Linked DNA regions of Homo sapiens: all the other regions are linked to region 4. Evidence: promoter capture Hi-C in 16 types of primary human blood cells and fetal thymus (Javierre and others, 2016). All regions are on one chromosome and are shown on one strand. Each heading gives the region's core, a stretch centred on a gene start or on the middle of the fragment in contact. The rest is flanking DNA. Distances are from core to core; before and after follow the strand shown.

What was found. Contacts are between HindIII fragments. The CHiCAGO score rates a contact against its expected background, and 5 or more counts as called.
Region 1: a fragment that was not itself captured here is called in contact with the fragment with the promoter of PDHA1 in region 4 in 5 of 17 cell types (activated CD4 T cells, naive B cells, naive CD4 T cells and 2 more); the score reaches 7.2 in activated CD4 T cells.
Region 2: a contact is called between the fragment with the promoter of PPEF1-AS1 here and the fragment with the promoter of PDHA1 in region 4, in 4 of 17 cell types (M2 macrophages, endothelial precursors, total CD4 T cells and 1 more). The highest score is 7.4, in M2 macrophages.
Region 3: a fragment that was not itself captured here is called in contact with the fragment with the promoter of PDHA1 in region 4 in 8 of 17 cell types (naive B cells, total B cells, naive CD8 T cells and 5 more); the score reaches 8.4 in naive B cells.
Region 5: a contact is called between a fragment that was not itself captured here and the fragment with the promoter of PDHA1 in region 4, in 14 of 17 cell types (total B cells, naive CD4 T cells, naive CD8 T cells and 11 more). The highest score is 14.8, in total B cells.
Region 6: the fragment with the promoter of RS1 here is called in contact with the fragment with the promoter of PDHA1 in region 4 in 14 of 17 cell types (total CD4 T cells, non-activated CD4 T cells, naive CD8 T cells and 11 more); the score reaches 11.6 in total CD4 T cells.
Region 7: a fragment that was not itself captured here is called in contact with the fragment with the promoter of PDHA1 in region 4 in 14 of 17 cell types (total B cells, total CD8 T cells, endothelial precursors and 11 more); the score reaches 11.0 in total B cells.

Annotation. Positions count from the first base shown.
Region 1 is chrX:18,373,982-18,377,883 of GRCh38, reverse strand. No RefSeq gene overlaps it. Among named protein-coding and RNA genes, the nearest start is that of SCML2, 21 kb to the right of the region's middle. The HindIII fragment of the contact is 470 bases long and covers 2,219-2,688 here.
Region 2 is chrX:18,690,656-18,694,227 of GRCh38, reverse strand. PPEF1-AS1 (PPEF1 antisense RNA 1) reads left to right here and starts at 1,541. Exons shown (of 3, transcript NR_046642.1): 1 at 1,541-1,603; 2 at 2,625-2,790. It also overlaps a transcript of PPEF1 not described here. The HindIII fragment of the contact is 4,386 bases long and covers 1-2,982 here.
Region 3 is chrX:18,439,808-18,443,896 of GRCh38, reverse strand. All of the region lies in intron 1 of CDKL5 (cyclin dependent kinase like 5), which reads right to left. Among named protein-coding and RNA genes, the nearest start is that of CDKL5, 16 kb to the right of the region's middle. RefSeq lists enhancers at 819-1,318, 1,319-1,820. The HindIII fragment of the contact is 3,075 bases long and covers 970-4,044 here.
Region 4 is chrX:19,341,358-19,345,189 of GRCh38, reverse strand. It overlaps PDHA1 (pyruvate dehydrogenase E1 subunit alpha 1), which reads right to left and starts at 1,263. Exons shown (of 11, transcript NM_000284.4): 1 at 1,096-1,263. The coding sequence starts at 1,152. The HindIII fragment of the contact is 3,035 bases long and covers 1-2,312 here.
Region 5 is chrX:18,350,350-18,354,064 of GRCh38, reverse strand. The region is part of intron 1 of SCML2 (Scm polycomb group protein like 2); the gene reads left to right. Among named protein-coding and RNA genes, the nearest start is that of SCML2, 2.5 kb to the left of the region's middle. The HindIII fragment of the contact is 768 bases long and covers 962-1,729 here.
Region 6 is chrX:18,669,541-18,673,558 of GRCh38, reverse strand. It overlaps RS1 (retinoschisin 1), which reads left to right and starts at 1,451. Exons shown (of 6, transcript NM_000330.4): 1 at 1,451-1,542. The coding sequence starts at 1,491. The HindIII fragment of the contact is 14,405 bases long and covers 1-4,018 here.
Region 7 is chrX:18,400,833-18,404,592 of GRCh38, reverse strand. No RefSeq gene overlaps it. Among named protein-coding and RNA genes, the nearest start is that of CDKL5, 23 kb to the left of the region's middle. The HindIII fragment of the contact is 3,599 bases long and covers 170-3,760 here.

The sequences.
Region 1 (3,902 bases), core at 1,204-3,703, 970 kb after region 4:
TCCGGTGAGTTTCCTCCTCACTGTGGTGATGGGTGGTGGCTTCCTGCAGAAGCTGCAAAATTCTTTTCTTTCCTTTTGTTTTTGTTTTGATACAGTCTCTCTCTGTCGCCCAGGCTGGAGTGCAGTGGTTTGATCATGGCTCACTGCAGCCTCGAACTCCTAGACTCAAGTGATCCTCCTGCCTCAACCTCCCAAAGTGCTGGGATTACAGGTGTGAGCCACCACATCCTGCCCAACATTTTTTTTTTTTTTTTTTTTAAGGCAGGGGCTTGCCCAGGCTGGAATGCAGTGGCCGATCATAGCTCACTGCAGCCTTGAACTCCCGGCTCAAGTGATCCTCCTGCCTCAGCCTCCCCAGTAGCTGGGACTGAAGACATGCACCACCACATCCAGCTAATTTTTAAATTTTTTTGCATGATGAGGGCTTACTATTTTGCCCGGGCTGGTCTCGAACTCCTGAGTTCAAGCAATCCTCCTGACTTGGCCCCCCAAGGAGCTGGGATTACAGGTGTGAGCCATCACTTCTGGCCTGCTTAACTCTCTAAATACTTTACCTACACCTGTTCCAGCATCTTATAGTCATATCCCAGTATTTAGTGGGGGCAGAATCAGGTAGTTATAAGTGGCTAGCTAGCCAGGAGGAAAGACTTGGTACTGATCCCTTCCTAGCTTGGGACAACTTTCTTTGGGGAGCTGGAGAGATAGTTTGGCTGGACAAATGAGGGGGCTCAGGGTCTAAGAGCAAATTACAGACAGAAATGGGATAGGTAATCCAGGATGAAGTAGCCAGCATGTCAATCAATCACAGTAGTCCTGTCACTGGAGTTGCCCAGGTTCTTGGCGTTTTGAACAAAGAATTGGACAAAACGCACAAACGAAGCAGTGAAAGAATGAAGCAACAAAAGGACAGATTTACTGAAACGAAAGTATGCTCCAGAATGGCAGCAGGCTCAAGCAAGTGGCTTGAGAGCACTGGTTACAGAATTTTCTGGGGTTTAAATAACCTCTAGAGGTTTCCCATTGGCTACTTGGTTATACCCTATGTAAATGAAGACTTGGCCAACGACTAGTCTGATTGGTCATGGGAGGCGAACAATCAGAGGCTGAAGTGAAGTTACAAAGGCAGTGGCTCACGCCTGTAATTCCAGCACTTTGGGAGGCTGAGGCGGGTGTTCGAGACCAGCCTGGCCAACATGGTGAAACCCCATCTCTACTAAAAATACAAAATTTAGCCAGGCGTGGTAACACGCGCTATAGTCCCAACTACCTGGGAGGCTGCGCTGAGGCAAGAGAATTGCATGAACCTAGGAGGTGGAGGTTGCAGTGAACGGAGATCGCACCACTGCACTATAGCCTGGGCGACAGAGTGAGACCCTGTCTCAAAAAAAAAAAAAAAACAAACAAACAACTTGGCCTGCAATCAGTCTGATTGGTCGCGGGAGGGGACCAATCAGAGGTGCTTTCCATTTTTCATCTGTGACGCAGTGGTAAGGGAGTAGCCGCTGATCCTTTTGTTACTTGGGTGTGGAGAGGTGGGGTTTTCCTTTTGATTCAGTACTAGGAAGTCAGTGTGAATTGGCCTTGGGTTCCCTGCCTCCAGACCCTATTCTCCTGCCTCATTTCCCCACTGAGAGATGTGATCCCCATACATTTTTATGGGAGGCAGAGGGACCAATGGTCTTTCTTATGTGACTGCTTCCAGCTGACTTGGGGTGTAGTCCCTACCATTGGGGATCACAGAACTCTCGCCGCTCTCTGTCTAGTGGAGACAGGGTGGCTTCTTGATGGCCAACAGTAGTGTCTTCAGCTGGAACTGGCTGGAAACCTTGTTGCATGATCATCTGAAGTTTGATGGTCCCTAGGCAAGAAGAAACGAAATTGGTTAAGAGATTTAACAAACATGGTCCAAAAACCAAGACAAGTATAATCATTAATAATTGGCCAGCCAGCAGAAGGAGCCATGAACCCCTACTTAGCATTTTTGGCCAGGAGCCCCATGACTTGGACAGCTGTTGTCGTACCTTAGAGGCCCAATTGGCTAGTTTTCTGGTGTCATCTCTTATTAATCCTGATTGATTGATATAAAAAAGCATTCTTCTAGGAAAAGACATAAGCCACCTTTTTCAGCAGTTAGGAGATCCAGTCCCCTTCTATTTTGTAAAGCAACTGCTGCTAAGGAGTCTATTTGATTGTGTATCTTCCAAGCTGTCTGAAAGCTTGTCTGAGTCATGGGGCTCCTGGTCAAAAATGCTAAGTTCATGGCTCCTTCCTCTGGCTGGCCAATTATTAATTATTACACTTGTCTTGGTTTTGGTTTTTGGACTTTATTTATTTATTTATTTTGGGACGAAGTCTTGCTCTGTTGCCCAGGCTGGAGTGCCATGGCATGATCTCAGCTCACTGTAACCTCCACCTCCCACGTTTAAGCAATTCTCCTGTGTCAGCCTCTGGAGTAGCTGGGATTACAGGCACGTGCCATCATGCCTGGCTAATTTTTGTATTTTTAGTGGAAACAGGGTTTCACCATATCGGCCAGTCTTGTCTCAAATTCCTGACCTCAGGTGATCCGCCCACCTCAGCCTCCCAAAGTGTTGGGATTACAGGCATGAGCCACCGTGCCTGGCCTGGACCATCTTTGTTAAATCTCTTAACCGAATTCATTTCCTCTTGCCTAGAGACCATCAAGCTTCAGATGATCCTGCGACAAGGTTTCCAGCCAGTTCCAGGTGAAGACCCTACCACCGGCCATCAAGAAGCCACCCTCCACTAGACAGAGTGGGGCGAGAGTTCTGTGACCCTTGGACAAGCATTGGTGATAGGACAGGGAAGTTGCAAGCCCACCAACTCCCATTCCTACTCCCGCTGTTATTTCTAGGCTTACCAAAAGGGGTAGGAGTTGGATGGCTCGTTTGTGTCTGGCGGTTGCAGTTAAAGGTATAATGAGGGATTGGTTCTTGGGAGCTATATTGATATCGGAGGCTAAATAAACAAGTGTATAGGTTCCAGTCCAATCAGCTGGTAATTATAAGTAAACTAGTCCCACACAGGAAAAAGGCTCCTTGTTTTTCAAGACAAAAATTGTTTGTTTGCTTTTTGAGCTGGAGTTTTTCTCTGTCGCCCAGGCTGGAGTGCAGTGGCGCAATCTTGGCTCACTGCAACCTCCGCCTCCTGGGTTCAAGTGATTCTCCTGCCTCAGCCTCCCAAGTAGTTGGGATTACAGGTGCCTGCCACCATGCCTGGCTAATTTTTTGTATTTTTAGCATAGACGGGGGTTTCTCCATGTTAGTCAGGCTGGTCTCGAACTCCTGACCTCGTGATCTGCCCGCCTCGGCCTCCCAAAGTGGTGGGATTACAGGTGTGAGCCACCGAGCCCGACAAAGTGTTCTTACTACAAAAGCAAAAACAGGGCTGGGTGTGGTGGCTCACGCCTGTAATCCCAACACTTTGGGAGGCCAAGGCAGGTGGATCACCTGAGGTCAGAAGCTCAAGACCAGCCTGACCAACATGGTGAAACCCCGTCTCTACTAAAAATACAAAAATTAGCCAGGCATGGTGGCAGGTGCCTGTAATCCCAGCTACTTGGGAGGCTGAGGCAGGAGAATCTCTTGAACCCGGGAGGCAGAGGTTGCAGTGAGCCGAGATTGCGCCACTGCACTCCAGCCTGGGCGACAGAGCAAGACTCCATCTCAAAAAAAAAGAAAAAGAAAAAAACAAGGAAACTTTAGCAGGTGTTGGACATGTATATTACCTTGATTGTGGTGATGTTATCAACTAGTGTTTGCATATGTCCAAGCTCATCACATTGTATACATGAAATATGTGCAGTTCTTCTTATGTTGATTATACCTCAATAAAGTTGTTGAGGAGGAGAATGAAGATGAGGAGGACGAAGAAGAAGGTGC
Region 2 (3,572 bases), core at 292-2,791, 650 kb after region 4:
ATTGAAAACAGCTTAAATGTCCTTCCGTGAGTGTCCCACAAACTGTGGGACATCCATACAATGAAATGCTACTTAGCAATAAAAACAAATGAAGCTGATACACACAACCTGGATGGGTCTCAAAGGCATTATGCTGAGTGGAAGAGGCCATGCTGAAAGGGATACAGACAGTTATATCGCATTCTCAAAAAGACAAAACTATAGTGACAGGGAACTGATCAGTGGTTACCAGGGGTTTATGGGTGAGGGAGGGGAGTGACTACAAAGGGCTAGCAGGAGGGAGTTTTGGGGGGCATGTTCTATATCCTGATGATGATGGTGGTTATGCTAATCTATCCATGTGTTAAAATTCACAGAACTGGCTGGGCGTGGTGGCTCACGCCTGCCATCTCAGCACTTTGGGAGGCCGAAGCGGGTGGATCACCTGAGGTCAGGAGTTCAAGAGCAGCCTGACCAAAACGGTGAAAACGTGTCTCTACTAAAAACACAAAAAATTAGCCAGGCGTGGTGGCAGGCACCTGTAATCCCAGCTACTTGGGAGGCTAAGGCAGGAGAATCCCTTGAACCCGGGAGGCGGAGGTTGCGGTGAGCCAAGGTTGCGCCATTACACTCCAGCCTGGGCAACAAGAGAAAAACTCCGTCTCGAAAAAATAAAAATAAAAAATAAATCACAGAACTGTACTTTAGGTTAGTGCAAAAGTAACTGCGGTTTTTGCAGAGATACGCCCACATACTTACTACTGGAGTCCAGAAAGAAATGAGCTCGACCTGGGAACACCAGGAAATGTTTCGTAGGGCATAAAAGATAGAGAAAGACATTCCAGGGAACATGGGAGTCTGTTATATTTGAGATTAGGGGATACATAGAGTACACAGCAAAGGTTGGGAGCATTAACCTGGGGGAGGTAGGTTGGTGCCACCTGTGTTCTTATAAATCACAACAAAGAATCTGGACTTCAACTTATCAGTCAGGGATTGTCCTTTCAAATGCTTAATGGGCTGGGGCAGATAATACAAATGACTAAAGCAGCCTGGGTGGAAACCATGAGACACTGTAGCGAGTTTTTGTCTAAATGAGGTAGCTGCTACTTACTGGTAGCTCCATCTTCGGCTGCTATCCAGAAATCGCAGCCCAGTGTTGCCTGATGTAATTTTCCAAGAGAAGCTGAAGATAGTTTTATGTACGATCTCCTTATTTTTAAATGTTAGCATGAGTATTTTTCAGCAAATTTATGAAGCCACTGATTACAGGGTACACTGCTGTTTTATGTACCAATAAGAGAGAACACCACTGATCAAACTATGTCACTGTCCATTTCAAGACACATCCCAATATCAGAGCTGCTAAAATGTGAAAAAAAAATGCATCTTAGAATCAACAAAATACAGTCATTCTCATTTTCTCAAAATGCCGTACAGACTGCGTGGATTCCGCTTAAAGCTGCCAGATTGCAAACTCTGTTTAAGTCAAGGGGAGCCTGAGGGTAAGCTGATTAGATTCAAGCTGCAAGATCACTCTGGGGATCAGATGGTGATGAATGGGGAAAAGCAGGTAACAGGAAGACCAATGAGGAGGCTCCTGCAATAATCCAGGAGATAGATGGTAAGGGCTGAATTAAAGTCATGGCAGCGGGGATGAAGGGGAAGAAGGAGCCAAATGTAAAAGGGTTTTATGTAACAAACCCCACAGGTCTCAGACTGGGCATGGAGAGTGAGGGAGACAGAGACATCGAGGAGGATTCCAGGGTTTTTAGTTTGGAAGAATAAATAGATTCATCATTCACTTGACAATATTTACTGGGTGTCTACCATGTGCCAGGCACTATGCTAGGTGCTGTGGTTACAAGGGGTGGACAAGATAGACATGGTTTCTGCCTTCTTATAATTTACAGTCTAAGAGATGATGATATTCATTGCAATAGGGTATTAAAGGGTACAAGAGTCGGACATGAAGGGGGACAAGCGAGTTTATGGTGGAGAAAAATCGTGAGTTCAGTCAGCAGTGTGCTAAATTTCAGTACTTGTGAGACCTCACTGTTGAAATATCCCACAGGCAGGAGAAGCCTGGGTTTGGAGCTCAGGAAATAAATCAGGACCAGAGAGTCAGATTAAATAGGTCATCAGGTTGCTGACAATAGCTGAAGTGATTAGAGAAGATAAAATAGCCAGGGAGAGCTTATAGAGTAAAGCTATAGAGGCAAAAGCAGAACACTGGGGAATAGAGACATTAAAGAGAATGAAAAGAGGAAGGAGCCAACAGGGAGGCTAACAAAGAAGCAATCTGGAAAGTAAGAGGCCAAGGAGTGAGGGCTATCTGTAAAGCAATGGAGACTTGATTACCGTATAGTCCATCTAAACCTGCACCTAGAATTACTGCCTGGAAGCAATTTACCTTTGCCATGTACAATTCAGACTGTCAGAGTTATGGATGTTTTGCATGAATTCCAAATAGGCTTATCAGAACTGCTTCTAATTTAGAAAGCTAGGATATTTTTAAATATTGCCACAATCTGTTTCTTTATCTTGTATGTGCTTACGTTTTACATGTATCTCAGATTGACATCTAGCATGAGTCAATGTAGAGCAATGCTAATTCCTTATTTCTTCTTCTTTTCCTTCTACAGGAGCTACAATCTGCCATTCCAAGAACAAAAGTAAAACAAAGACTACACACTGATGCAACTCCCTCTCATGTTAAAGCACTGGGAATTGGGCAAAACTGATCTAGACAGAGAATGGAGTCACCTTGCAAGACCATCATGAGGTTCTCTGCCCAGAGCTCTGTAACAGGTGAGGCTGAAATGTGGTAAGATACTCTGATCCTTCGGACTTGTCTAGAAAGGTCCTCAGACATCTTCATTTTATAGGAGAGGAAACCACGCCCAGAGAAGTTAGGTGGCCTCCCCAAAGTCACAGTCCTGTGACTCAGTGACCAGCACATCAAGGTGACCCAGTTTCACCCTATACATATATATTAAAGCTTTTAACAAACTTCATACATAAAACATAAAGACCACAAGAGTTGGGCTAAACAACTAAACAGACAGAGGCCACAGGTTAACTTTCGATCATTGTCCCATGCCTACCCGGATCATACTCCATTCACCTGGTCCACTAAGTGCTCTTCTCTTACCTTTCCCTCGAGGTTTGATCAGGTCCACACAGGTTCAAGGGGAACAGACTCCTAGATCTTCACTTTGCTGGTTGTTGACTCTTTCAGCCTGACCTGCGGGCTCAGGACACAATCTATCATCACACAGGTCTTATTGAAGAGGGTTTCCCAGTCTCATTTGTAATCTTCAAGAGGTAGATTCTAGAATGATTAATAGGTTGCCTTGGTGACCTCACAATGTAGGATGCAGATATGACAATACCTGCCAATGGAATGTGGACGACATGACCTGGATGAGAGGACTATTTCTTGCTTATTGAAAGGCAGATTCCAGCTTTCTTTTTGTCACCATTGCCTCCTTATCAACTATTTTTGTGTTCATGAACATGGTAAACAAAGAAAAGTTTGTTTCTTGGAGGAATGTTGATAAAACAAGGCCTGGGCCAGGCACGATGGCTCA
Region 3 (4,089 bases), core at 1,258-3,757, 900 kb after region 4:
TGCAGTGGTTCACACCTGTAATCCCAGATCTTTGGGAGGCTGAGGAGGATCACTTGAAGCCAGGAGTTCCAGACCAGCCTAGACCAAAAAACTAAAAATTAACGGGAGCTAAATGATAAGAACTTATGAACACAAGGAAACAACAGAAATTGGGGACTACCTGAGGGTGGAGGATGGGAGGAGGGAGAGGAGCAGAAAAAATGACTATTGGGTACTGGGCTTAATACCTGGGTGATGAAATAATCTGTACAACAAACCCCTAAGACATGTGTTTACCTATGTAACAAACCTTCAGGTGTACCCCCAAACCTAAAATAAAAGTTAAACAAAATTTAAAAATCTGTCAAAACACAAAAGAATAACATTAACTATCCCCCTCTACCTGAGGGGAAGGGTGAGAGGAAGGAGAGGAGCAGAAAAGATAACTACTAGGTACTGGGCTTATTACCTGGATGATGAAATAATATGTACAACAAACCCCTGTGACATGTGTTTACCTATGTAACAAAACTTCACATGTAGCCCCAAACTTAAAAGTTAAAAAAAATTTACAAATTTGTCAAAACACAAGAGAATAACATCAAAGTACTCGGGGAAAGGAATTAACCCAAAATTCTGGACCCAGCTCAACAACCATTCAAGGGAAAAAGTGAAGTACAGACACTTTCACAAACACCAAAACCAAATTTACTATTAAGGGGCCCTTACTGAAATAATTAAGAACATTTTTTAATAAAGAAGGAAGAAACTGAACCAAGAAGGAAGAAATGGAGTGAAGGAAGAATGGTGAGCAAAGAAACCTGAAAAGCACATGAGTAAATATTCACTATTTTTATTGGTGTAAGGTGGCTTAAATAAGGCAAAACTAACACATAAATAACATTAACATGGAAGAGGGGCTGACGGTTAAGGAGTAAATCATTCCAAACTCTTGGTCTTATTCAGGAGGACAGGAATAATAATTAAGCTTAGACTTAAGGAAACGCTCATGTTAAAATTTTAAGAGTAACCAAATTTCTGGCTTAAACCCTGGAATAAGAGAACTACAATGAAAAAGAGCTGAACTAATTTCAAATTCAAGACTTTCTTTAAACCCAACAGAGCGCTAGGCGCGGTGGCTCACACCTGTAATCCCAGCACTTTGGGAGGCCGAGGCGGGCGGATCACGAGGTCAAGAGATTGAGATCATCCTGGCTAACATGGTGAAACCCCGTCTCTACCAAAAATACAAAAAAAGTAGCCGGGCGTGGAGGCGGGCACCTGTAGTCCCAGCTACTCGGGAGGCTGAGGCAGGAGAATGGCGTGAACCCGGGAGGCGGAGCTTGCAGTGAGCCGAGATCGCGCCACAGCACTTCAGCCTGGGCGAAAGAGCGAAACTCCGCCTCAAAACAAAACAAAACAAAACAAAACAAAACAAAACAAAACAAAAAAACCAACAGAGCAACCAGTTGGCTCAAAAACTAAGGAGAGTACCTGAAGGGAGAGAGGAGACGACCATGTGCTCGCCTGTTGGAGAGTACAGCTGGACACCAAAAAGAACGGGTAGAAGAGTCAGTAAATGCGTGAAATCCAATGTGGCTTGCTGAAAAGATAGTGTGAAACCACTGGGGGTCACAGAAATTGAGGATATGATACCTCAACTTCCTGTAGGGTCTTCCTCCTCCAACTCCCCCACCCCACTCACTCAGAGCTCTAAAGAGTCCTGAGGTAGGCTCATTGTGATGCAAACCTGGGGGTGGGCAGCAGCTAAGCCTGAGAGGCTGGACACTACCCTCAGATCACTCTCCCCTATCTCCACTCAGGAAGACAAGCCTTCACTGTGACAGAAAGGACAATGGTTACTTCTACCCTTAAGACAATAGTGAAAAATCAGAGCAGCAGGGAGGAGGGGTGGGGGCCCAAGTCCTGGGAGAGGGGTAGGATTCCACATTGAGCCCAATACAACAGCCAGGGAAGGGGCAAGATCCTGAGAGTCAGGCCTGAAACTGAGGCTTAATCAAGAACAGAGACCACATCCTATCACCCCTCCCCACCTCCAAGCAAACAAACTTCCAGGAACAGTAAGAGCAGAATATCACTGAGAAAGGGACGGGAGAAAATCAAGAGTATGTAAAGAGACCCTCACTAAAGCACACTTCGAAGGGGAGACCTGAAATTTAGACTGGAACAGACACTGTTCTGGTAAACCAATTCCCACCCTGATCACAAAGTATCTCTAAGAGAATTTGAAAACTGGGGTACACTAGGTTAACCATAACAACACAAAAAAACTCAAATCCAGCCCAATGTAACAGTGAAAAGGAAGCCTAGCATGACTAACATCATTTTGCTTCTAAGCCCCCCCACCACCACCCAGTGAAACCATCTAACTATGGGAGAAATTCAGTTTATAGTTTAAAGCAAATAGTCCCTTCTGAAAACCCCTGAAGAGATAGGGGCAGTGTACACACAAGTAACAACGTTGTTAATGATTTTTTTTTTTGAGACAGGGTCTCACTCTGTCACCCAGGCTAGAGTGCAGTGGTGCAATCATGGCTCACTGCAGCCTCGACCTCCTGGGCTCAGGTGATCCTCCCACCTCAGCCTCCTGAGTAGCGGGACTACAGGTGTGTGCCACCACACCCAGCTAATTTTTGTATTTTTGATAGAGACGGTGTTTCACCATGTTGCCCAGGCTGGTCTTGAACTCCTAGACTCAAGTTATCTGCCTGACTCGGCTTCCCAAAGTGCTAGGATTACAGGAGTGAGCCACCATGCCCAGCCATGTTAAAGATTTATAGTATTGTGACCTGACCAAGGACAAAGAAGTTTCACAACCTCCACAGACCCTCACTGCCACCTAGATGTCTGTGGTCATCATAGTCATCTCTTGACCTCAACCTCCTCCCTCTTCCCTCTTCCTCTAACATAAAAGGAGGCGAAAATTCATATTAAGATGGTTCTTTCGGACATTACTAGTCCACCATCTTCTCAGGTTGCTGGCTCTCCAAATAAGGTTGCTTTCTTTGCGCCAACACCTTGTCTCTTAACTTATTGGCTGTCATTTGGTGAGTAGTACAACCTTGGACTTGGCTACACCAATTCCTAACTAGATTAACTCAAATACCAGCACTAACGGCCTAGCAGAAGGAAAGACATACCCATTTAAAGACACAAAGATTATATGGAGGCTGAAGTGGGTGGATCACCTGAGGTCAGGAGTTCGAGACCAGCCTGACCAACACAGTGAAACGCCGTCTCTACTAAAAATACAAAATTACCTAGGTGTGGTGGCACATGCCTGTAATCTCAGCTACTTGGGAGGCTGAGGCAGGAGAATTGCTTGAACCCGGGAGGCAGAGGTTGCAGTGAGCCAAGATAGTGCCATTGTGCTACAGTCTGGGCAACAAGAGCAAAACTCCGTCTAAAAAAACCCAAAACACACACAAAAAAATGATATGGCCAGGTGCAGTGGTTCACACCTACAATCCTACCACTTTGGGAGGCCAAGGCAAGAGGAGCCTGAAGATATGACTGAATTGCTGTGATCTCATGATAAAACATGAATGGACAAAGGAGTTGCTGCTTATGGAAGAACAAAGGAACTGTTTTTCTGAGATGAAATCTACTGGTAAAGATGCCTTAAACATTTTTGAAATGACTATTTCAAAAATACACTACTCTATAAACTTAGTTGATAAAGCAGCAGCAGGCTTGGAGAAATAGTTCTAATGTGGGTAAAACGCTATCAAACAGCATCGTATGCTACAGAAGAACCTACAATGAAAGGAACAGTCAACAGATATGGCAAACTTCATTGCTGTCCTATTTTAAGAAACTGCCACAGATCCCCCAACCTTCAGCAACCACCATCCTGATCAGTCAGTCACCATCAATACTAAGGCAAAACCCACCACCAGCAAAAAGGTTATGGGTCACTGAAGGGTCAAATTATTGCTAGCATTTTTTGGCAATAAATTATTTTTAATTAAAGTATGTGCTTTTTTTTTTTAGACATAATGTTATTGCACACTTAATAGACTACAGTATAGTATAAACAAAGCTTTTTTTTTTTTTTTTGGAGACCAAATCTCACTCTGTCGCCCAGAC
Region 4 (3,832 bases), core at 14-2,513:
GGGAAATACCAGAATCCCGAGGCCTGCAGTTACACCAATTAACACGACCTCACTGTGCCTAGGGGGGTCAGAATGCTAGCTCAGGTGTTAGGCACCTCTAAATGCTGAGGCCATGAAATAGTGCTAAACTCTACCCCCCACCCCTCAAGCATCGTTGCTCTTTGCTTTAGCTACTTGTACCCTAAGAATGTGTAGGTAAGGGGAGGGGAGGGCAGCGTCCTCTGAGTTCTGCTTCGGCGCTCCTGAACTCACTGCCAAGAAAAGCTCAGATGTTGAGGGAGAGGGAAGAGGAGGAAGTTTGTTTCTGAAGAGGCTGACCTTCTGTGAACCCGCCTCAGAACTGAGCACAGGTGTTCAAGAAATGTATACCGAACTGGAGACTCAATAAATAACACTATTCAACACACATGTTATCGATTATGTGCCAGGTGCTATTTGGAATCGTTTCCACACGTGTCACTCGTTGAATCCTCAAGACAACCCCAAGAGGTGGGGACTCTTATTATCTCCATTTTAGAGTTAACTGATAACATTTCAGAGATAACTCTTATCTCCATTTAGAGATTAACTCCACTTCGAGCAAACATTTTAGGAAACCGGGTCCCCGGGACGTTTAAAAACTTGCTCAAGGTCACAGGGCTAGTCAATGGTGAGGGTGCTGTTTGAACGAAGCCACCCTGTCTCCAGATTCTACGCTATTACAAAGCCTCTCGGTCAAGAGAAATTAAGTTAGAAGATCCGAAATGAGTGGGGTCAATTGGAGACTCGAAGGAGGCCGAGGCCACCCTTTCCGTGTCCTGTAACCCAACAGGCACCTCTTGAGCACACCGACTTCGCCTGGCGCACAGCTGGGCCCGGGGGCGGGAGGTGGGTGTCGAGAAGGGGGAAGTTCACACGGACCTTGGCGTGATCCCGGTCCGTGCCGCTTCTCCCGAGGCCAGGAACGGAATGCAGGGCGCGGAGGCGAAGTAAAGGCTCCCCGGCTCCCCTGGCGCCTTCCACCCCGCTCTGGGTGGCCCGGCCTGGCCCGCCCTGCCCTCCGGCCCCGCCTCAGCCCCACTCGCGCCCCATCCCGGCCCGCCCGGGAGGTCTCACCGGCTTCTGAGAAGCGCCAGACAGCACGCGGGAGACGGCGGCGAGCATCTTCCTCATGAAGCACAGGCAGTGGCGGCAGCGGCGACTCCTCACAACCCAGGAGGCACGACGCGGGTGCCCCCAAGTCTCCTTCAGGTGCCCCAGCAGACGCCACGCCTCAGTCGCACCGCGGCGTGACAGAGTCGTAATAACGTCATGCGCTGCGCCGGGCCGCGGGCCAACCAGAACGGCGTCCAGGGGGTGCCCCGCCCCCGCTAAAGGCCTGAGGCTGCCCATTGGGTATCAGCGCCAGAGAGGGAGGGGCTGAGGGCTCTTTCCGACGCCACGCCGCGGGCGGGTGAGGAGGCGGGGCTTGATAGCGCCTGCGTGGGAAGGTGGGGCCCCCGCCTCCAGGGCGCCGCGGGAAAGGAGCCTTCCTAGATTCCGCTCTGCTGACTACCGGGGAGGTTGTGCAGGCCCCGTCCTACCGAGCGCCTACTCCTGCCGGTGCTGCAGCTCTGCAGCCCTCGTTCAGTACATCTCGTTCAGTACACTAGATGATGAAGATTAGCAGCATGCTCAGAGCCAAAAGACAGAACATCTGGTTTCTGTAAATGGTCTGCCACTAACTTTGTCTTTAAAAGATCACGTAGCAGTTGGACAGTTCTGCCCTGTCTACTTGAACGCGGATCAAAAAATTTGTTTCCCAATATATGTCGAGAGGACAATGGGAAAAATCTTTTTTCTCTAGTTATTGGTTCACAGGCTCACTGCGAGTTAACAGCGTGGCTCAGCCGATGATAAAAGCACACACAGAGACAAAACACCAAAGCAACAAGGGGCTCTATTCAGAGGATCAAAGGGCTCAGGAACCCATTGTGTTGTGTCCTAGTGGGATTGCACCTGGGGTTCCGGGTTCAGATTTGGGCTCCACATTTTAAGGGGGATAATGAGTAAACTGAGTGGAATCCAGGGGACAGTGGTCAGAACGGTGAGGGGCTGCGATTGTGACTTATGAAGAACGATTAAAGAAGTTAGGAAGAAAACAGGCTAACTAGAATTGGCTGGGTTATGATGTAACAACTGACCTCCAAATTTCAGTGATTTCAAGAATTTGAAGTGACGCGAGCCATCGTACTCGTAACACAGGTCCCTCACAGCGTGGCACCCTCTCTCTGGAACTTAGCTTGTCTCATGGATGAAGAGAAAAGGGATCATTTAAACCGGCTCTCAAAGCTTCTGCCCAGAAGTGACACATGTCACTTCCTCTCAATTTTCACGGACCAGAGCTAGTTACCCGACCATGTCTGAGTTCCACAAGGTGAAATATAATCCTCCTGCCAGGAGGAGAACAGAAAATTGGATGAACAGTAAAACCAGAGAGGATTGGATATGTCTTCACACATTTTCAGGCCAGTCATGTTCCAGGAGGAAGAGCTATTTTGTGTGTGTGTGTGTGTGTGTGTGAATAAAATCATTTCATTTCAGCATAACAATGAATTTTCTAACAATGACAATGGTCCAATGAGATAATTCTCTCCCAGTGTCACTGAAAGTATTCAAAGCAGAAGTTCAAAGCATGACCAGCTCTCAGCATAGCTAGAGAAATAATTTGGGCACTGGGCCAGACTCTGGACTGAGAGATCGTGTTGCAGTGGAAGAAAACTTCTTAAAGGAGTGAGAGGGCGCCATTAAAAGGCAGAGATGGACGTGAGAAACTTGCATGGTATGATTTCAGCAGCTGCTGCTGCTGATAGAATATGAAAGGTAAAAGAGAATGAAAAGGTTGGAGGCCAGATGTCCAGCTCAGGAGAAAAAGCTGGTCTGAATGGTTTGGGACATGTTGACCTGGTGGTGGCAGTGGCACAGCTATCTGAAGATGTCCCCCGGGAAGTTGGAGTTGTAAGTCTGGAACATTTGCTAAAAATATTAATTTGGGAGTCATCTCCACGGGGTGGTGATATTGGTTGTGCATGTACGGGAACTCTGTAGGCCATATGAATATGAATTCATTCATTCATTTGCTCATTCATCCAACACCTATTATTGAGCACCGATTTTGTGTCAGACACTGTACTACACACTGAAGATATAGCAAGGAACAAGTAAAATATAGGTCCTACTTAAATACATGATTGAACAAATCAATGGGTTAGAAGGAACAACTTTTCCTTACAGTAGAATTCCAATTAATTAATATAGAAGGAATGATGAAAATAGAAAAAGAAAATCACCATTTGGCAAAGACCACAGTAACTGTTGCAGGTGAGAATTATCATCAATACAGGCTAAAATTAGTGGGTAAATGTATGATGAGAAACAGGACATTTGCCTCATCTCAAATGATCTCTCCACTAGATTCATTACAAAGTTTAAAGTAACTTTGCAGTGCAGAAACAAAGTAACCAATTTTTCAATGACTAGGATATTTTCTCTGCACTTCTTGTTCTTCATATATATACATATATATACACACATACGTGTATATATATATATTTTATTTATTTATTTTTTTGAGACAGAGTCTCGCTCTGTCGCCCAGGCTGGAGTGTAGTGGTGCAATTTCAACTCACTGCAAGCTCCGCCTCCCAGGTTCACGCCATTCTCCTGCCTCAGCCTCCCGAGTAGCTGGGACTACAGGTGCCCGCCACCACGCCCGGTTAATTTTTTTTGTATTTTTCGTAGAGACAGGGTTTCACCATGTTAGACAGTATGGTCTTGATCTCCTGACCTCGTGATCCGCCCGTCTCAGCCTCCC
Region 5 (3,715 bases), core at 96-2,595, 990 kb after region 4:
CTGGCGGGGGCTGGGGGCGCCGGTGGCTCACCCTAGCGGTGCAGCGGGACCGGAATGCGCGTCCCGTCCGGGGCTGGCGGGGAGGCGAGGAGGGGCTCTAAGCCTCCTGAGGGGCGGAGAGGCGGCCTCGCGGCCTGACCGAAAAAAAGTTGCTGCCGTCACTTAGAAACAGTCTCGAAATGGTTTCTTACCTTTCTCGCTTTTTCCACCTGTATCGTGCTTGCGCCCCATCCAGGTGTGAAGAGCCGGAGGGAGAATGGGTCTAGGCGAATTTGCTCGATTTTGCGCCTCAAGGTTGTACATAGATAGCTTCCTGGGCCGACTTGTAATTCGGCTCCCCCAAACCCCAAATGTTTGGGCAGCACAAGTATTTACTTACAGGCTCCCATTTGAGACTATTTATTTTTTAAAAAGAGGTTGTTAAACATTTGTCAAGCATCACAAAGTGTGATTGCAACTTGAAATTTGCTTCTTGTTTGTAAATTAGGAGATTAACGTTTATGACTTACTTTAGGTCTTCTCTGGAAAGTTAATGGATCGATTAGTGGGGGTAAACTGAGGCAGGGAAAGTGAATAAGTTGCTTATGATCATATGATTTACAAAAGTATTGGAGATAGTTGTTTTTTTCCCTAAAACAGCTTCAGATGCTGCTACATTTTAATGCCCCCAGAGCTATTCATATTTCTGTTTTGAGGGAAAAGTATTTTAAGATGTACAACATTTATGGAGTACAGCTGCCTATGATGAGCAATTGTTTTATAACAATGGTTCATAAACGCATATTTAATTCTTTTCAATAACAGCGAGGGAAATGTTTTTCAATAATGACGATTTTGCCTTTCTTTTATTTTTCTTAATTACTCATTAAATAAAATATTTCCAATTACGAATGTGCTTTCAGGCTGTTTGTGTGTTTTTTTTTTTTTTTTCTATTTAATGGGAGGAATGTGAAAATAAGCTTTTGGAAATGAATCCAGTGGGATTTTTGAGAAAAGATTGAGTTTATGAGTATTCACCTGATGCCTTGTGTTTAGCTTTATCTATAACCTTTAAAACAGTTTGATAGAATGTAAAGAAAAAACACCATTTAAACTGGCTTTGAAAGTTTTGAATGAACTTTATATATACATCATGCAGCCATATGAACTTCTTAAGGATGTATACTTGTTTACCCCAGAGAACCTGATTTGCTTTGGAATTGGTAGTTGGAAAAAAGATTACTGTAACTCTACTGCATTATATGTGCGGGTGCTTTAAAGTTGATAGTGTCATAACGTTCAAAAATCATTACAGTCAGTCTAAAAAAGGTGTATCAGTTTTTCTCATGAGGTGGTTGATCAGTCCTTTTGATTTATGATTCCATCAACACATCTTTATTAAGCACCTGTGCTGTCTTTACTATGGAGTTCAGTTTATTCAGAGCCCACTACGTGTGCTAATTTCAGGGTGTTTAAGGCTTTCCACCCATAGTTTATTCCTGAAAATTTCAGGGAGTTATAGCTAAAAAAATCAATACGAATGTAGAACAAGTATTCCTTTCATTCAAAGGGCGAACTCGAGAAGTCAGTATTTTTGTCATAATTCTCCAAACAAAATTCTGAGTGTAGCTGCAAACTATTTCTGACTTACGTGATGTTAACTTTGTGATTTTTTGGTTAGGATTATATAAAGCTATATATTTTCATGAGATTATTTTCTGGTTCAAATAGATAACATACTGGTTAAGCTTGAGGGGAAAAATGAGTTGCTGGTATAAATGGAAATCAATATGTGCTCTGAAGATTGGGTATTTTTTAATACTAAGCAATTTCTATTACTAAGTAGTTTAAGCTGTAATTAAGTTTTAACTGGTATTTTAAAGCACTTTGTTTTTTCAAAATGTTGCAGAAATCTCTGAGCTCAGAAATAACAAATAAGGGTTATGATCCTCAGCTATAAGCCAGATGTGACTCTTATTTTCTTTTGGGCTTGTTCCTTTTTAGCTGCCTGCCTGTTCCTCCCAGATGCTTCCTATCACCCCTCTTCCTGCCCCTGTTCCCTTTGCTGTTGGTGTCTGTTTCCGCATCAGTGAAATGGTCAGGGTAATCCTTTGCTGCTTCACTGAGAAATAATTAATGATGGTAAAGTGCCTTGAAAAGGCTGAGTAAATACCAAGTCTTTTGAATTAACTTGATGTAGCCACTTGTTCCATTTAAGGAAGAGCCAAATCCCAATTTTAGTTTGAGCTCTTGGGGGTGCGAGAGAAAAGTTTCACTTGACTATTTTACTGCCTTTCTTTTGGGGTTAATAGCAATGACTTTTGTAACTCTAGTAACTGGAACACGGGTGGATACAGCAGTATCCTCTGCTGTTTGCCTTATTAGTCACCTCTAGTCTTTTTTTTTTTTTTGCCTGGTTATTCTGTCTGCCATTTTTCTCCCTCTATTCTCATTCCACTTGTGAATGGAAATCGGAGGTCCTCTCTATTAGCTACCCTCTCGGGGTGGGGAGGGTAGGTCTCACTGTCTCCTCATAGTCATATTCCTGATTTTTAGGATATACAAGAACAAAGTGGGCTCTGCCAGCTATCAGCCTTAGAGCTATGAGCTGTGGTGCAAAGATTAGTCTGTCATTGCCAGAAGGTGTTTTGTAGTTTGCAGTGGGCAAATCAAGCATCCCTAATAATTTTAGAACCATTATTAATGTCTGAGAATTACTACATAATACCTTAGAATTTGAACTGATTGTTGATTCCAGGAACTAAAAACCTGGACATTTTGAAAATGGCAAATGTTGGTGATGTTTTTTTTTTTTTGAGATGGGCTCTCGCTGTGTTGCCCAGGCTGTAGTGCAGTGGCGTGATCTCAGCCCACTGCAGCTTCTGCTTCCTGCGTTCAAGCAATTTTCCCACCTCAGCCTCCTGAGTAGTTAGGATTACAGGGGTGTGCCACCATGCCCAGCTAATTTTTGCATTTTTAGTAGAGACGGGGTTTCACCTAGTTGGCCAGGCTGGTCTCAAAACTCCTGACCTCAGGTGATCCTCCTGCCTTGGCCTCCCAAAGTGCTGGGATTACAGGTGTGAGCCACCACGCCCGGCCGTGTTGGTAATTTTGAAGGAAGAGTTTATACCCTTCCCTGGCTTTGGGGCTTAATATTCAGGATCTCTTTGTCTTGGGGAAATAGATAAAAGAAACCACTGGCGTTTATCTTAGATTAAAATGGCATAATTTATACCATTATATAAATACTGGTATAATTTAGTGGTAAGTACATTTTTTAGACTCTAAGTACCTTAGGCTTTGGTTACCATTTATAAAAAGAGTTTGTGGTAGTTCTTTTTTTGATACGGAGTCTTGCTCTGTTACCCAGGCTGGAGTGCAGGTGCAATCTCGGCTCATTGCAACCTCTGCCTCCTGGCTTCAAGCAATTCTCCTGCCTCAGCCTTCCCAGTTGCTGGGACTACAGGCATGTACCGCCACACCCAGCTAATTTTTTTTTTTTTTTTTTCCGAGATGGAGTCTCGTTTTGTCACCCAGGCTGGAGTAGAGTGGCACGATCTCAGCTCACTGCAACCTCTGCCTCCCAGGTTCAAGTGATTCTCCTGCCTCAGCCTCCCAAGTAGCTGGGACTACAGGCGTGCGCCACCGAGCCTGGCTAATTTTTGTATTTTTAGTAGAGATGGGGTTTTACCATGTTGGCCAGGCTGGTCTCAAACTCCTGACCTCAGGTAATCCA
Region 6 (4,018 bases), core at 202-2,701, 670 kb after region 4:
ATTCTCCTGCCTCAGCCTCCCGAGTAGCTGAGATTATAGGTGCACGCCACCACGCCCGACTAATTTTTGTATTTTTGGTAGAGACGAGGTTTCGCCATGTTGCCCAGGCTGGTCTCGAACTCCTGACCTCAAGTGATCTGCCTGCCTTGGCCTCCCAAAGTGCTGGGATTACAGGTGTGAGCCACCACCTCCAGCCCACCATAATCATTTTTAAGTGTACAGTTCAGTAGTGTTAAGTATATTCACATTGTTGTGAAACAGATCTCGGGAACTTTTTCATCTTGCAAAACTCAACTCTATACCTATTAAACAACTCCCCTTTTCCTCCCATCAACTTTATTCTGAATGGTGATGTAAAAATAATAGCTAATTATGTCTAGCACTGTGCTAAGTATTTTATACATATGATCTCTTGTAAGCCTCAAAATAACTCTCGAAAGTAGGCATTATTATCATCATCTTACAGATGAGAAAGTTTAGGCGCAGAGATATTAATAACTTGCCCTGAGGTCACAATGTAACAAGTGCTAGTGCTGCGATTTGGCACCCAGTCTGGGTTGGCAGTCTGTGCTCTTAAACCTACCAGGCTGCACTCATCTCTTGATTTACTTAACCAGCCCCCTAACCTTGGCCATTTAGATTGTTTCCAATTTGTTGTTGTTAAAAGTAACACAGCAATGCACAGCTTTGTGTTAACTGTCCTCCCACCACCACCAAATTTAGCATTTTCCTGAGTGAATAGGTGTGCACATGATGCCTAGTTGCTTTCAAAGAGGGGAATCCATGACATTTTCATACAATTCGAGAATGTTAGTGCTTATGTGGCAGGAAATTGTTCAAGGTCACCCCCTAAAAAATGATGGCGAAGAAAGGACGAAAACCTGAGACTTCTGGTTGTAGTTCTCTCCCTCCATTGCTTCCCTTACATTAAGATAGAATGAACAGTATGGGCCGGGCGCAGTGGCTGACGCCTGTAATCCCAGCACTTTGGGAGGCCGAGGTGGGTGGATCACCTGAGGTCAGGAGTCCGAGACCAGCCTGACTGACATGACGAAACCCCATCTCTACTAAAAATACAAAAATTAGCTGGGCGTGGTGGCGTGAGCCTATAATCCCAGCTACTCGGAAGGCTGAGGCAGGAGACTAGATTGAACCCGGGAGGCAGAGGTTGCAGTGAGCCGAGATGGCGCCATTGCACTCCAGCCTGGGTGACAAGAGCGAAACTCCATCTCAAAAAAAAAAAAAAAAAAAAAAAAAAGAACGAAAAGTATCTTCCTCGCGAACTGAATCTCAGTTGATGCTAGTATCTTCCATGAGACTTCCTTGTTGAGGCAGGTAACTCTGTGGGTTAACTTGATGGGGCTCAGCCAAAGACCTAAGAACTAAATGGATTAAGATGCTTAATGAGGCCAGGGCTCAACTTAATCCCCTGCTCCTGGGCCAGCTCTCCAGTTCAGTAAGGTAGAGCTTTGGCCGAGGACGAGGGGAAGATGTCACGCAAGATAGAAGGCTTTTTGTTATTACTTCTCTTTGGCTATGAAGGTATGTGCTATTCAACCATTGACATTCATTGCATACTTAATACATAATTTAATTAATATCGTTGATAAATAGGAATATAGCCTGAATAATATAAATATTATTAATTAGCAACACGTTAATTAACTAACATGTGTTATTAATGAACAACAGTTGTCTTTGTGTGGATGGCTTTCCAGTTCTGTGAGGAGCCTTCTAAAGTTCAAAGGATGCTTAAAATCCAACAGAAAACAGGATGGGTCTCAGAAATCTATAAAATAGCCATAAGTTGCAACAATTAATGAGAAAGTATGGCATATTCTGGAAAACTTTTAGGAGTCAAAGTGGGAGTGATTGTAGAATTTAATATTCCAAACCGGAATGCTATTGACGGTGGAGGACGATGCTATTAATAATTCTGTTGGGACGACAGGTGTAACCCAGGACCATCCAGGGCAAATTGGGGTGTAAGGTCAACCTAGTTTAAATATGGATTAACGTAACATACCCAGTACCACTGGAATCTAATAAAAAACATAATCCAACTGAGAGTCAGGAAACCTCGGAGACTCAGTACACTCACTCATTTTAAAATTTCTAAATATGACCCTAGCAGAAGTGATATGCTTCAATTAGGAAAAAATAAGGGCAAATCTGTAAAATGTCATCCAGTTCCAATTCCCTCTCAATCTTTGAAATAATATTCTTTCATGCCTCTCTCAATTCTCAAGTACCCATCTGCTCAGAATTTCTCCTCAGGTTCATCCAGATGTTAGAAATTGGTTGCCTGTCTTCTTTGTGGACATCGTGTATTTGTGTGTTATAGAAAATAAATTAAAAAGCAGGGAGAAGGAGGTCTCTGTGCTCTGCAAATGACCTGGTAGACAGACACAGCGAAACTCACACAAGTAGAATCAGAATTCTTGGTTTCACGGCTCACTGTAGCCTCAACCTCCCAGGCTCAAGCCATCCTCCTGCCTCAGCCTCCCTAGTAGCTGGGACTACAGGCACGCACCACCACATCCGGCTAATTTATTGTATTTCTTGTAGAGAGGGGTTTTCACCATGTTTCCCAGGCTGATGACTTTTGTTACTTAGTCACATTTCTCAGTATTTGGAAAGACTGGTGACAATATAATTCCAAGGTCATTCTGCAAACCCCAAGGTATATTTCTAAGTAGGGATCATGTAAACCAGTTGTCTGTTAGGATTTTTTCCCCTTGCAATTAATAGTCTGCAACTTGTCCCAGTAACTCTGACTACTTTAAGATGCTTTGGGGTTTTGTTGTTTTTCCTTTTACTCCTTGCCCCCTCCTCTTTCCTCAGCAAGAAAATCTAAGCAGACTCTTTCAAGGCTTAGATCTAAATACTCCTGGTTGTCAGACACTCCCAGGGCTCACTCTCGGATTTCTCTTCTTTGTGATTGGCATGGAGATTCATTCATTCATTCCTTGGTCCCTTCTTTTAAGAGCTCATCCCTGACTATCTGCTAGGGGGCAAACATTGTGTATGACGGCGGGGCGCGGTGGCTCATGACTGTAATCCCAGCACTTTGGGAGGCTGAGGCGGGTCTATCACCTGAGGTCAGGAGTTTGAGACCAGCCTGCCCAACCTGGTGAAACCCCGTCTCTACAAAAATACAAAAAGTATCTGGGCATGATGGCAGGTGCCTCTAATCCCAGCTACTCGGGGGAGGCTGAAGCGGGAGAATCGTCTGATTGCTGGAGAGGGAGGTTGCAGTGAGCTGAGATCATGCCATTGCACTCCAGCCTGGGTGACTGAGCGAGACTCAGTCTCAAAAAAAAAAAAAAAAAAAAGGACTTGACATGCAGGGCATCCTTGTTTCTTCCACAGTGCTGAGTCTAACAACCCTGTTCTGTGACCTCCCCACCCCCGCGATGCGAAGAAGTCCTAGAAATGTTTACCAAAGCATTTTAAAATTAGACCTGCCCAGTTAGTGGATATCAGCAATAAAAGACAGGCTGTCAGGAGGCATGAAGGATAGCACTCTTTCGTGTTCTAAAGTTTACCAATCTTTGTGCATGGCTGGGGAGCTCCAGAAATGTCCACGAAGAGCAGAGAACATCGTCTCTCCAGGTGCCCTGCAACGTGGGCCAGTGGGAAGGTTTGGGGAGCTTAAATTATCTTACTTGCTTAACGCAGGCCTTTAACAGCACTTGAAAGGAAAGCAGCCAGCCAAAAATAGCCAGTGTGGCTTGGCAACCTACTGTGTGCCCTACCCTGGGCCAGAGGGATGCTCCAGGGGACAGAGGACACAATCACTGAACTTAATCAGCATATTATCCAGATGGAGATGCATAAGGCCCATAGACATGGGAAAGATGCATCCCATTGTACAGCTGGGAACCTGAAGACAAAGGCTGTTTGTCCAATTTACCCTCCACTGCTTCTGTCCTTCAGTGGCAGTGTCTCCTCATTACAGTGAAATAAGGTAAAGAAATTGCCTTCACTTAGGCGTTGGATGAAGGTTCATTTCGGA
Region 7 (3,760 bases), core at 720-3,219, 940 kb after region 4:
GCTCAGCTAATTTTTCTTTTAATTTTTGTAGAGACAAGCTCTTACTCTATTGCCCAGGCTGGTCTTGAACTCCTGGCCTCAAGCGGTCCTCCTGCCTTGGCCTCCCAAAGTGCTGCAGATTACAAGTGTGAGCCACTTCACCCAGCCTCAAAATTAATATACTGAAGCTTCAATCCTCAGTGTAACTATACTTGAAGATTGGGCCCTTAAATAGGTAACTAAGAAAAAATGAGGCACTTAGGGTAGGGTCTTAATCCAATATGACTGATGTCCTTATAAGAAGAGGAGGAGGTAGCAGGGGTTCACATCCATAGAGAAAAGGCCATGTGAGGACACAGCAAGAAGGTGGCCATCTACAAACCATGGAGAGAGGCCTCAAGAGAAACTAAACCTGCTGATACACTGATCTTGGACTTCCAGCCCTGAGAACCGTGAGAGAATAAATTTCTACTGTTTAAGCCACCCACTCAGTGGTATTTTGTTATGCAGCCCTAGCAGACTAATACAGGGGGCTTAGGACAACAGCTTGGTCTATGCAACCTCTCCTAAAGATTGTATGTTTACATCAACACACTTTTTAATTAAATTGTATATTTATTTACTTTTTTTTTTGAGACAGAGTCTTGCTCTGTCCCCTAGGCTGGAGTGCAGTGGCACAATCTCGGCTCACTGCAACCTCTGCCTCCCAGGTTCAAGCGATTGTATATTGATTTAAAGTTGTTTGTACGGAGGTGAGGGCTGAAGAGATTACTCGTGGCATCCAAGCCTCCCTCGCCCCAAGGCCTTTCTTTCCATGACCAAATCCACCTAAACCTCATCTGATTTTCTTTTCTTTTCCTTGAAACAGGGTCTCGCTCTGTCACCCAGGCTGGAGTGTAGTGGTGCAATCTTGACTCACTGTAATCTCCGCCTCCTGGGTTCCAGCAATTCTTGTGCCTCAGCCTCCCTAGTAGCTGGGATTACAGGCATGAGCCACCTATACCTGGCTACTTTTTATGCTTTTAGTAGAGACGGGGTTTCACCATGTTGCCCAGGCTGGTCTCAAATTCCTGAGCTCAAGTGATCCACCCCATCTCGGCCTCCCAAAGTACTGGGATTACAGGTGTGAGCCACCACACCCCGCCCTCATCTGATTTTCTTTGAGCTGTTGCCTGTTTCACTCTGTGACCTCATTTCTCAGCACTTCCCAGCTCTGACACCTGCTCAATCCTAAAACCAAGCAAATCTGTCTGCTGCCGCCTTTAGCCCACAACCAGCTGGCCTCTAGACCTGGGCCTCAGTGTACTTCATGTTCCCTCCCTCCTGCCTTCTCTCCATTTCCTCGTATGATGCAGTAGCCAGTGTATGCACTCACAGCTCTGTGCCCAAACAAGAACCACAGGCGCTCCTCCACTGTATTCATCTGCTCAGTCTGTTGCAACAAAGTGCCACAATCTGGGCAGTTTAATAACAGACATTTATTATCTCGAAGTTCTGGAGGCCAGAAGTGTGAGAACAAGGTGTCCGCAGGGTTGGCTCCTTCTGAGGGCTGTGAGAGCCTCTTCCTCAGCTTCTGGTGGTTTGCTGGCAATCCTTGGCATTACTTGGCTTGTAGATGCATCACTTTGTGTATTAGTCTGTTCTTGCGTTGCTATAAAGAACTACCTGAGGCTGGGTGTGGTGGCTCATGGCTGTAATCCCAGCACTTTGGGAGGCTGAGGTGGGTGGATCACTGGAGGCCAGGAGTTCAAGACCAGCCTGGCCAACATGGCAAAACCCTGTCTCTACTAAGAATACAAAAATTAGCCAGGCGTGGTGGTGCGCACCTGTAATCGCAGCTACTAGGGAGGCTGAGGCAAGAGAATCACTTGAACCCGGGAGGCAGAGGTTGCAGTGAGCGGAAATCGCACCACCGCACTCCAGTATGGGCGACAGAGTGACACTCTGTCTCAAAAACAAACAAAACAAAACAAAAAAAGAATGGGGGTGATGTTAAAAGTTCTAGAGCAGGAATTCTTACCCTGAGATCCAGGGTTTATTTCCAGAGGGAGCTATGGCTCACCCACATTACATGCAGAATGTGGATTGGTTGTGTGCACTCCTACGACTGTCTTAGGGGATGGTCCATGTTTTTCACCAGATTTTCAGAGGCCAGGACTCACAAGAGTTACAACCTCTGTTTGAGAGACTAAAAGGCTTGTGTCCAGCAGAAGCGACTGAACAGTGAACCCCAGGTCCCTCTCACACCCAAGCAGGACTCCAGCGGGCAGAGGGCTCTCGCGATCACCGCAGCTTTCCTTAGCAATGGGGCTCTCTGGCTCGGCTTTTCCTTCCCACTGTCACCACTTGTGCTTTCATTCCTGACCCCACTTCACTTAGCCTGCCCCCTCCCCTCATCCCTGAGGCCATCCTATGGTGCCTGATGAGGCCAGTTCCCCTGCATTCTAAACCGAATTTCTTGCTGTCTCCCTACCTCCATCCCCTGGCCTCAGCTGAAACCTGTGTCTGCCAGGACAGCAAGTCCCCAGGTCTCCAAATCTTCCCTGTATCAGCCATCAGAGGGGGTCATGGTGGGGCAAGGGTCTGATCCCTGAGCTGCTATGCACTTGGGCCTCCCCACTGGGGGTTTACTCGACCCAGCTAACCCCAGAGATGGGAGGTCAAGGATAGGGCCTTGGGAGGCTGGAATCAAAGGAGAGCAAGCCGGTTTCAGAGTAAGAGTGTCTGCAGTCGGACCCAGGATGCTGGTTGGAGCAATGTGGGTTATGATGACCCAGAGAGACAAATCTAGTCAGAGGCCACCTGAGACTCCACTGGAAAGACCAAATACAAACATGTGTTCCAAAGGCCGGAGACAAGATCAATATTTTTTTGCAAAGCTAAGAGTTAACACACAGAGGGAGACCAAACTCAGACAAAAAAACAGGACAGGGACAAATGAGAAGGATCCAGGACCATCATCCTGGTTGGACTCAGGCATCTGCTTGTATAAAGGCAGTACAGTGGTTAAGAGCATGGACTCTGGCACCGGACCGCTTACATTCAAATTCTGGCTCATCCGCTTCCCAGCTGTGTGACCTTGGGCAACTTACTTAAGTGCTGCCTTCCTCAGTTTACCCATCTACAAAATGGGGAATACTAATCACACTTACCTCTTGGGCTTGTTGAGAGAATTGAGTGGTTTAACACATGTGAAGGATTTAGAATGGTGCCTGGCACACCGTAAGTAAGTGTCAGCTGATATTATAAAGTCCGCACATGGTGATTCACAGGCAGGCCCTTGTGAGTTCAATATCCATGTGAACACATCACCTAACACCACCATTTCTGCACTGTTCTGGCTCTGTTGCAGGCCACTGACACCAATGATAGCCACGCACCAGCCCAGGTGAAGCCTGAATAGCTCATCACATGCCACACTCTATTCCCAGCTGCCAGGCTTGGAATGCCAGTGCCTGGACTTTTTTTTTTTTTTTTGAGATGGAGTCTCGCTCTGTTGCCCAGGCTGGAATGCAGTGGTGTGATCTCGGCTCACTGCAACCTCCGCCTCCCAGGTTCAAGCGATTCTCCTGCCTCAGCCTCCCGAGTAGCTGGGATTACAGGCATGCGCCACCATGCCCAGCTAATTTTTTTTGTATTTTTAGTAGAGATGGGGTTTCACCATGTTGGCCAGGCTGGTCTTGAACTCTTGACCTCAAGTGATCCGCCCACCTCGGCCTCCCAAAGTGCTGGGATTACAGGCATGAGCCACTGCGTTCGCCAGTGCCTTAACTTTCATCTG